2 separate regions of the Homo sapiens genome follow, and region 1 is linked to region 2. Evidence: promoter capture Hi-C in human tissues and cell types (Jung and others, 2019). All regions are on one chromosome and are shown on one strand. The core of a region is centred on a gene start or on the middle of the fragment in contact, and the rest is flanking DNA. Distances in the headings are between cores, read along the strand shown.

Region 1 (5,073 bases), core at 1,323-3,822, 77 kb after region 2:
CTCTGGCACTGGGGTACAGTGGCAGCTTTGCGATTTCACAGGCATTGAGGAGAGCATGTCTTCAGCACTGTTAGTGGCTATAACCACAGTGAAAGTAACAATATTGGCAATGGCAGTGACCAACCATAACGGAAGCTAAGTCCCAGTCAAGAATTTGCACAGAATGGAGCTGTCATGGTGGGCCCAGCTTGGATCACCATGATGGGAAAAGAAAAAACTCTTAAACTCTAGGAAGTGAACATCATTGGATGGGGAATTCTCCAAAATGAGTGTGAGTTTGATTCTTGAGTCATGAGCTGAGGCAGCCTTTTAGCTTCCCTGACATCACATGCTGCAAATTTCCTGCAGCTACAGTGGCAGTAGAGAGGAGTAGCATATTTTAGGTCTTTCTGTGCTTACTGCCATGGAATCCTGAGCCAGCTGACAAGACAGCAGGGACCCACCAGGATTGGCTTGTGTATACATGTTGGAAATATTTATTAGGGAATATTAGGAAGAACAGGACTTTATCATGAAGATGGAGGCTTCGGGCTGGTGAGATTTTAGATATTAATATTCATGTGACTGTCTTTATACTCATAAATTCATGAAATCTGAAGTATTTAGATTTCATAAAAGCTGTATTGCGATATGAATCTGTGTCAGGTCAGAATCAGTACAAGGAATAAAATCCACTCTAAGTACTTACATTAGTCAGCTAGGGCTGCCATAACAAAATGCCACAGACTGAGTGGCTTAAACGGCAACAGTTTACTTCTCACAGTTCTGGAGGCTGAGAAGTCCAAGATCAAGGTCCAGCAGGGTGCAGTTTCTGGCAAGGGCTCTCTTCCTGGCTTGCAGACAGCCACCTTCTTGCTGTCTGCTCACATGACTAAGAGACAGAGCGCTCTGTTGTCCCTTCCTCATCTTATAAGGGCACCAATTCTATGGGATTAGGACCTGACCCTTATGACATTATTTAACCTCTATCACCTCCAAGCAGGCCATATCTCCCAATACAGTCATATTGGAGGTTAAAGTTTCAACAGATGAATGTTATGGGAACACAAACGTTCCATCCATAACAGTATTTTAAACCGACAGAATTTAATGCAAGAGATTAGGTGCTTACAAAATTAATGAGAGGGCAAGAAGAAGAAGAAGAAAGCTTAATAATAAGAGGCGCCATAAAATGGATCATCCCGTCTGTATAGTTATTGAGAATGTCACTACATCACTGAAGCAATGCCCTATGGTGAGTATTTACATGGGACACAAGTATTTTCATACTCTGGGCTCTTTTGAAAGATCCATCCCTAAATATTTTCCTTGTTTCTCATTGCCAATCTCAAATTTTGTTCCTTCCAAGTCCCGGGCATTGAACAAATGCTGCTCACCCACCTTTAATTGGCATCAGTCTGTATATGTGGCCATCTATCCTTCAAGGCATTGAAGTTTCAAGAAAAACTGCACAGTTCTGCCCACCTGGAGAAGTTCCGTCCTCTCCATCCTTGGTGGCCACTCCTGAGCAGAGCTGTAGTGCTGCAGCATTCCACTTCCGGCCGCTTTGAGTTTATGGTGCAGAAACGTATATAAACCAGGCTGGAACTTTTTCTTCTTTTGTGAACTACGTGCATTAAATGCCCTATAACACTGTAAGTATGAATTGAGGGAGAGGTGGCATTGATCGACACTGGAAGAAGACATGGGAATCTGAACCACCTTCTCGTGAAACTCAGTTGGACCTTTAGCGTATGCTTCAGTGGGAGCTCTCTCTCTCTCTCTCTTTATTGTTTTTGAGACAGGGTCACCTCTGTCACCCAGGCTGAAGTGCAGTGGTGTGATCATGGCTCACTGCAGCCTCGACTTTCCAGGGAGATCTCTTATGTCCCACTTCCTTCTGATGTTTGAGTGCTTCTGGGCTATGCAGAGGATGCAGGCATCCTCTGCATCTTTTTAACATGAGCACAACAGACCACCTCATACCCATTAAGATGGCTGCTATAAAAAAAAAAAAAACTAAAACCAAAAATCCTCCAGAAAATAACATGTATTTGTGATGAAGCAGAGAAATTGGAACACTTCTGCACTGTTAGTGGGAAGGTAAAATGCTGCAACCACCATGAAAAACAGTGTAAGATTTCCTCAAAAAACTAAAAATGGAATTACCATATGACCCAGCAATTCCATGTCGGGGTGTATATTCAAAAGAATTGAAAGCAGGTGTCAGTGAGATTTCTGCACACCCATGTTCATAGCAGGATTATTCACAATAGCCAAAATGTACAAGCAACCCAACTGTCCACTGGAGAATGAATGGATAAACAAAATGTGCTCTATCCACACAATGGAATATTATTCAGCCTTCAAGAGGCAAACAATTCTGACATATGCTACAACATGGATGCATCTTAAGAAAATTGTGCCAAGTGAAATAAGCCATTCACAAAAGGACAAATACTATATGATCATACGGTATTTATGTGAGGTACCTAGAGTTGTCATATTCATAGTAATAGAAAGTAGAAGGATGATTGCCAGGGGCCAAGGGTAGGGAAAAATCAGGAGTTATCGTTGTGTGGGTACAGAGTTTCAGCTTCGCAAGATGAAAAGCGTTCTGGAGATGGATAGTGGTGATGATTGCACAACAATGTAAATACGGTTAACACCACTGAACAATACACTTAAAATGGTTAAAATGGTAAATTTTATGTATATTTTACCATATTTTGAAGTACCTTAAAAGTTAACACAAGGGCGCTGTATGGCTGTGGTGGGCCATGCAGTAACCAACCATGAGTCTTCAATTAGAGCTTGCAAGAGGCTCCATACCAACCTCTATCTGCTGCAGTCACCTTGAGTATATCTGGATCTGCTGAGGTCAAAAGGCCACTGTGGTAGATCCGTATCCACTACAACCCAAACCAGCTGGAGAGCCTTTTTGTGCTCTGGGCCCTGTGCAGAGCTGGTAGCCTTTCTGGATAGCTCAGGAATAGGTTACATCATATATTAGTAGGGGTGCAAAGTGAAGCAACTTGCCTTTCACTTTGGAGAGGCTATTTTAACATGCTCCAGACTACTGCAGATCTCTAGAAATTCACTGAGATGTCAGGACCCTGAACTTTCCCAGAGTGCATCTCCCACCCTCTGATATGCATGTGCCTTAGTTAGACATCTACCACTTTCAGTTCAACAGGTCCAATCAGCATGTTATTATCAATGTAGTGGACCGTGTAGTAGCCTTAGCATAATGTACTGATCAAGGTCCTCGTGGAAAAGTTGTGACAGATGAAAATAAACTGCTTATGATCATCTCTGCTCATTGAAATGAACAGACAAGAGTTACTTTGGAAGAACTGCATCTGGTGGGAATGTTCAAATGAATTTTGACATGAACCTCAAAGAATTTGATAGACGTGGAACAGCATGAGCGAAGACATAGAAATAATTTGCAAGTGCAGGATATAGAAAGGGATTGGTTGACTAATTGATACATTTAAAAGTATGTATCTAGGCTGCGTGCAGAGGCTCGCACCTGTAATCCCAGCACTTTGGGAGGCTGAGGGGGGAGGATCATGAGGTCAGGAGATCGAGACCATCCTGGCTAACACGGTGAAACCCTGTCTCTACTAAAAATACAAAAAAAAAAAAAAAAAAAAATTAGCCGGGCGTGGTGGCGGGCGCCTGTAGTCCGGCTACTGGGAAGGCTGAGGCAGGAGAATGGTGTGAACCCAGGAGGTGGAGCTTGCAGTGAGCTGAGATCGCACCACTGCACTCCAGCCTGGGCGACAGAGCGAGACTCCATCTCAAAAAAACAAAAAAACAAAAAAAACAGTATTGAGCACCTACTAAATGCCAGTGACTTACTTGGCTGAGTTTGTAAAAGACAGCAGTCTGAGCCTTAAAGGACAGAGTAAGGAAATAATTCACAAGGCAATTATAAACCACTTGAAGGTTTTTAAGCTGGAGAGTGATATGGTTAGGGTGGTTTTCATGAAGATTAATCTGGCAGCAGAGGCTAATATTCCAGCCAGGAAGAAGCAATATGTTATGACCTAGAGTCTGAACTAGAGCTGAACTAGAGGATCTGAACTAGAGTCATGACAGTGAAAAAGGAAGAGAAGGATGGGATGGAGAAATGCTGTAGAAGAGGAAAATGCATCTGCCCTGATATGGAGGCCAGTAGGAGAGATGAGCCAAAAACAACTCCAAGGCTTTGAGCTTGAGTAATTGAGATCAATGAAAGAAATAATGAAATCGAGAGGAGGAGTTGGTAGTAGGCAAGAGATAATAATAAGGCTGATATTATTACACTGAAACACCTTGAGGGCAGGGACTGTGATTGTTTTGATCATACTTTTGTCCGCAGTGCTTGGCATTAGATGAACACTCAATAAATATTTGTCATGTAAAATGTCTTATGCTCAATTTCAGTAAATTGACACGTCCACCCTTAACAAGGAAGTATAATGATCCCTCATTTTTGCTATTAATTCTATTTTCATTTTGACCTACCTAAGGCATGTATAAAAATATAGGAAATACTATGATGAATACCCATATATATGCCAACTACTCAACCTGAGGAACAGATTTTTTTTTTTTACAGATATTATCGCTACAGATATTATCTGTCTTAGTCCATTCAGGCTGCTGTAACAAAATACCATAAGCAGAATGGCTTATAAAGAATAGGAATTTATTTATCATGGTTCTGGAGGCTGGGAAGTCCAAAATCAAGGTGCTGGCCAATTCAGTGTCTGATGAGAGCCTGCTTCTGGATTCATAGACGGCTGTCTTTTCACTGTAGCTTCACATGGTGGAAGATGTAAGAGGTTTTTCTCAGGCCTCTTTTTAGAAGGGCACTCATCTCATTCATGAGGGCAGTTTAGTGAATCCCAAAGACCCCACCCCCCAAAGGTCTCATCTCTTAATATCATCATCTTGGCACTTAACATTTTAACATTTGCATTTTGGGGAAACACAAACACTCAGACCACGGCATTTTTATTGTCCGCATCCCTCCTGAAGGTTCCACTTCCCAAAGGTCCCATCTCCTGATACCATCCACTTGGTTGTTAGGATTTCAACATA
Region 2 (5,504 bases), core at 1,231-3,730:
AAAATCAGTGTGTTCATATCTACATGTTTGGGGGAAATAAAGCAAACAGCAACATGAAGGTGCTCCCAAGATTCTGTTCTGAAAGTTGTCCACCAAAGGGCACCAAAGTAAAACCAGCAGATGGCTCTGAACACACAGAGAGAGAAGGGGGGAGAGAGAATGGAGGGAAGAGGGACAGAGAGAGGGAGAGAGAAATGAGGGAGAGAGGGGGAGAGAGAGAGAGAGACAGAGAGAGAGGAAGAGAGAAAGGAGGGAGAAGGAGGGAAAGAGGGGGAAAGAGGGATAGAGAGGGAGGGAGAGAGGGAAAAATAAAACAAGAGAAGACAGAGGCTAGGTGAAATAGAGAAGTTGCCAGAGGACTTCTGGGAAAAAACATTTGAAAAGGAAGGACTGAAAAGAGAAGAAATGGGCACAACGGGGACTCCGGGTCTGGCCATAACAGCCAGGAGAAACAAGGGCTTAAGCCAGGAGGTCTGAAAAGAGAACAGAAGGTAGACCACCTAGAATGGGGACAAGGCACTTCCACTCTGCAAAGGTGAGTGTGCTTGCAGTGCAAAGCAAGAAACGTGAACTTTAAAATTCTTCAGGCACATGTGTTCAAAAGGCAAAGATACATGAGAATGCAAGATGAAAAACTCCAGCGCAAGATCAGGCTTTTTAAACTGCCACAGCTCCCCTGTCTCCCCAGCTAGCTTCTATTCGCCTTCCCAGGCTCCTAAGCCCAGTGACAGGAGAGACTCTGGAATGATCAGAGATTCTGGAATGAAAAGAGCTATGCCCACTGCTTAGGAGGCCAAGGATTCTGCAAACTGATCCCCGCAGATACCACAGCGCTTTACTCTGGTCTCCAAGGCCATGGCACACCCTAAAAGATTAAAATGCCTTAAGGTAAATGACCATTCCCAGATGAAGGCACAGAATGTAAACAAAGTGTGGGCCGAGGGAAGAAACTTGAAAAATCACAATAAAGTGGCCTCCCAGAGCAGGCAACTAGCAACTTTGTAGGAAAAGGAGAGGGAAGAAGTCCTGTGTTCTGCACTGAGAGATCATTTCATGTCACGCTTCAGTGCAATTAAAATAAAAAAGGATTTACTAATTACAAAGCAATCCTAACAAGGTACATAATACAGAATATTCACATCTTATACATCTCCTAGAGAAAGATTACAAACACAGAATGTTTCACCTTCCGGAGGAGATAATTATTAACTTTTAAAGACTAGCTCAGGCAAGAATGAAAAAGTATCAAGTCAAGGCCACATACATTCTAATTTTATAACCCAGGCGGCCCTGGATGGGATTCAGAGAGCTCTTATTTGAATAAGATCTGACGATATCCTCTCATTAAAAGGATTAGTGTTTCTGCACAAACGTCTAGATAAATCTTATTACTGGTCCAAAATTAGTCACCTAAAGGCTTTAGCCAGTTTTGCACAAATATTTACAACTCTGAAGAGGCTGAGTACTTTTTCTCTTGAAATCCAGGCACTATATCCACTTCAAAAGCCACATATGATTGTGGCTTTTGCTGAGCATATTTCTTTTCGACGAGTTGAAGATGACAATCTCTCAATACCTTACTCCATAGACTGGATGTAAGCGTCAAAAGAGGATGAAAAGGTACTTTCTGAACGGACAGGTACTCTGGGGTGATGGGTTGGGAGATTCTCTAAGCCTCAAGAACAGCGTTTCATGAAACGGGCTTATAAAATACAGCCCATCTCAAACGGATTTTAAAAGGCACCCAGTTACTTTAAAATACCCAATACAAACACCAAGACGGGCTATTTTACCAGGTCCCCTGCAGAATGTGAAGGGGCTTCCAGCGCTCCAAGCCGGCTTTCTAATTTAAGCCAAGAACCGAAAAGGAGCGAAGGCGGCTTCGGGGACCCCGGCAGCGTGCAGGGCCAGGAGGTTCAGCCTGCCCACCCGGAGAGGGGTGCGCCGAGCTCCTCTGGAAATAGTGACTGAAGGGTCCCCGCGAAGTCGCCGTGCCAGCCCCTCTCCCAGTTCCAGCGGTCCCCGAAGTCCCCGGGCAGAGCCGGCTGCACAGGGACCGGACGAGGCGAGGCGCATTCCGGGGCGCAGCCCCGAGGACGAAGGTCCACGGCTTCAGCCCCAGCCCACGGCCCCGACTCCCTGACGAAGACTCGCTGGAGCGCGGCCTCAGGGCAGCTGCGCGCAGCTGGACTCGTCCCCGGGAGCCCTCGACCCTCTAGTTCCCCGCCGGCCCCAGGGCGCCCTCGCCCCGCTCCTTCCCCGCCGGCCCCAGCGTCCGGGCTGCCCCTCGCCCGCGGCCTCTCGGCGGGGCTGGAGACCTAGCAACTTACTGGGGCTGGGTTGGGGTCGCGCCAAGAAGGCGGCGGTGGGCTGCCGGCTGCAGCGCGTCGGGGGCCCGCGGCTGGGGGACGCTGGAGCAGCGGCCGCCGCCTCGCTGGTCCCGCGAAGAGGAGCGCCCGCCGGCCGCGCTGCAGAAGGAGGGCTGGGCACGTGGGCGCCCCTCTGTGTAGCCACCCGGGGCGGGGGCGGGGCGCGGGGCCGGGCGGCACCGCCTCCTCCGCGCTCCCGGAACGCGACCCCGAGCCCGCCTCCCGCCGGGCCCCGGCCGCGCTGACCAATCCCCGGGGTGGGCGGTGTGCGGCCGCTGCTCAGCGGGGTTTGCCTGGAGCCGAGCACACGTGGGCGGGCGCTAGCCCCGGGCTAGGCCGGTGGGCGCGGGCCGGGGAAGAGAGGCTGCGCGCGAGGATAAACTTCGTGCTCTCCTGGGAGGACCAAACCTCAAGGGCATTTCCGAATCTTCTAAGCAGAGTTCTAAGTGGGGTTTTGGTCCCCCCGTTTACTTTCCATTCTACAAAGATTTTGGAAATAAGAAAATAATAATAAAATATAATAATAGCAATGATAAATGGAAGCCCAGGTGGATGTGCTTTGTCAAATGCAAACTAAACGTTGATAAATAATGTGCAGTTGCTATTTTGGAAGACTCCAGTGGTATGAATACGTAGTCACGATTGTTTGGGGGTGGGTTTATAGGAAATGACATTATTTCCAGGGGAGCAAGAGCAGAAGTTACACAATCAGGGTTTCTCCTACTGCGCTATTGTTTACTTTAGGAGTCTCTGATAAGATTAAGTCACAATGTGAAAGCCTGTTAATTTTCATCCAAAACGAAGCAAAACACGCACTGAATTGAACAATAAGTGTGTGTCAGTGTGTGTGTGTATATGTGTGTGTGGTTTGTCTTTAGAGACAGGGTCTCACTCTGTCGCCCAGGCTGGAGGGCAGTGACACAATCGTGGCTCACTGCAGCCTCGACCTCCTGGGCTCAAGCTATCCTCCCGCCTCAGCCTCCCAAAGTGCTGACAACTACAGGCTTGAGCCACCAGGCTGAGAATTACAGGCTTGAGCCACCATGCCCGGCCTATTACTATTTTTGTTTGACAGAAAGGTCCACTTTACTTTGCATAGTATTGGAGTAAACGTCCCTTTAACCCACCTACTAGTAATAACTTTGGCAAAGTGCCAGATTTGTATTGCTGCCTCACAGTACATATACAATTTTAATGTGATATTCTAAATCATTCTTCCCTTCAAGACATATATCCCCAAGATCATCTAATAAACGGTGTGGGGCTTCATTCCAGAAGATAGCACACACACAAAATCTCAATGTATCTCAGGAAGCCATCCATGGATTTCATCAAAAAGTGAAAGTGTAGGCTGGGGGTGGTGGCTCACGCCTGTAATCCCAGCACTTTGGGACGCCGAGGCGCGCCGATCACCTGAGGTCAGGAGTTCGAGACCAGTCTGGCCAACAGGGTGAAACTCCGTCTCTACTAAAAATACAAAAATTAGCCGGGCGCGGCGGCGGGCGCCTGTAACCCCAGCTACTCGGGAGGTTGAGGCAGGAGAATCGCTTGAGCCCAGGAGGCGGAGGTTGCAGTGAGCCGAGATAGTGCCACTACAGTCCAGCCTGGGCGACAGAGTGAGATTCCGTCTCAAAAACAAAAGCAAACGAACAAAAAAACTGAAAGTTTAAACAGCACTATGATTACGAAGATATTATCTGATAGACCAAATGTCTTAAGTAATAGAGACTGTCAAAGTAAACTTATTTTTACAGTCAAAAAAAGATTCCTTATGCAAATTATCATTAATAACATTAAGGGAAATGATGCGTGTGGACTTTTAACACCAGATTCCTCCTCAATCCCACGGCTAGGAGGCGTTGTTCAAGGGAGCGATGACTCAGATACTTTGTCTAATTTTTAAGGGTGAGTAATCTGGTCTAACATTTTTCACCTGGTTTAAAAAAAATAGAGATTCCTGGGAGTCGCGGTGGCTCAGGGCGGTTGCCCTGGCACTCGAGGAGGCGAGGCTACACGTTCGAGGCCAACCTGGTCAACATTGATTAAAATAAAGAAAGAAAAAATAAAAAAATAGAGATTCCTATTTTTAAACTTAAGCAATTATTTCCCCACATATTTTTACTTAAAGGCTCTGTGTTTAAATCTGTTTAATTTGTGATTAAGTTACAACACAATGATTTGGGATAAACAAATTTATCTGGAATTTGGAAACTGCCAATTTTGTCAGAATACCGATCTTTGAATTTATCCAATCTGCCCGCCGGCGCACTTCCTGAAGCAAGAACGTGCTGTGTTCATGTGTGTGAATAAGAACAACAACTTCATCTCTAAGCAAAAAAAGAGCAAATTCTTTCAAACAACTTTCTAACAAGATTGCTGAATATCTTTACACACTAGTTCTTGACTTAACATATTCCATTTCGTGTTTGAAATTATTGATTAACCCTGAATCCTGCCTCATAACTTTGGTTATTTCTCACCTTTAAAAATGTGTTTAGATGAGGAAAGAATAGGATGCCCACGGATTTAGTATGAGTCTCTTAAGACAGACTATGAGACAAGAGAAAATAGAATCGAATTTTTAGAAATGAAATATTTGAAACAGGTTAAGCTCTTTTGACTTCATCTTCATTTGCATTTTCTCTTGCTGCCCGGGGTTGAATTAGCATCTTTTTCCCAGTTGAGTAAAATTTGCACCCACCTTCTATTTCACGCTCCCTGGTTTATTGCCATCACTTTTCACTTTCAGCCGTCAAGTTTCCTCCTTAGGAATGAAGCAGAAAATCCAACTTAGTCATTTTCAGCAGAGAGAGTAGCCTAGGTTGTCATCTTCCAAAGATTTCACAAACATTCTTGCATGTCTGAACTCTTAAGGGTTTATGAAATTGCGGGGAATTTTAAGGGACTTTTGTAGCTGAATAAATTCCACACCCTGTACTCCCACACTTGCCAAATACAACCTAAAGTAAATCTCATGTCCACAAATAAGGGATTTACTTCAACTAGCAAGACTGAAGGAATGGATTCTTACTAGTTCTAATTTGTGACTCTATTATTCCCCAAACTATTTTAGCGAAGACAAGCTAAAATCCTCCAATTTTTTTCAGATGGTTGGATACTGGATACTAATGCTTG

Evidence for each region. Contacts are between HindIII fragments. The study calls those that stand out against the background at their distance.
Region 1: a contact is called between a fragment that was not itself captured here and the fragment with the promoter of SLC7A2 in region 2, in 3 of the 25 tissues and cell types used here (dorsolateral prefrontal cortex, mesenchymal stem cells and thymus).

What each region holds. Positions count from the first base shown.
Region 1 is chr8:17,417,443-17,422,515 of GRCh38, reverse strand. No RefSeq gene overlaps it. Among named protein-coding and RNA genes, the nearest start is that of MTMR7, 6.6 kb to the right of the region's middle. The HindIII fragment of the contact is 6,995 bases long and covers 1-5,073 here.
Region 2 is chr8:17,494,064-17,499,567 of GRCh38, reverse strand. It overlaps SLC7A2 (solute carrier family 7 member 2), which reads right to left and starts at 2,480. Exons shown (of 13, transcript NM_001370338.1): 1 at 2,331-2,480. The HindIII fragment of the contact is 11,749 bases long and covers 1-5,504 here.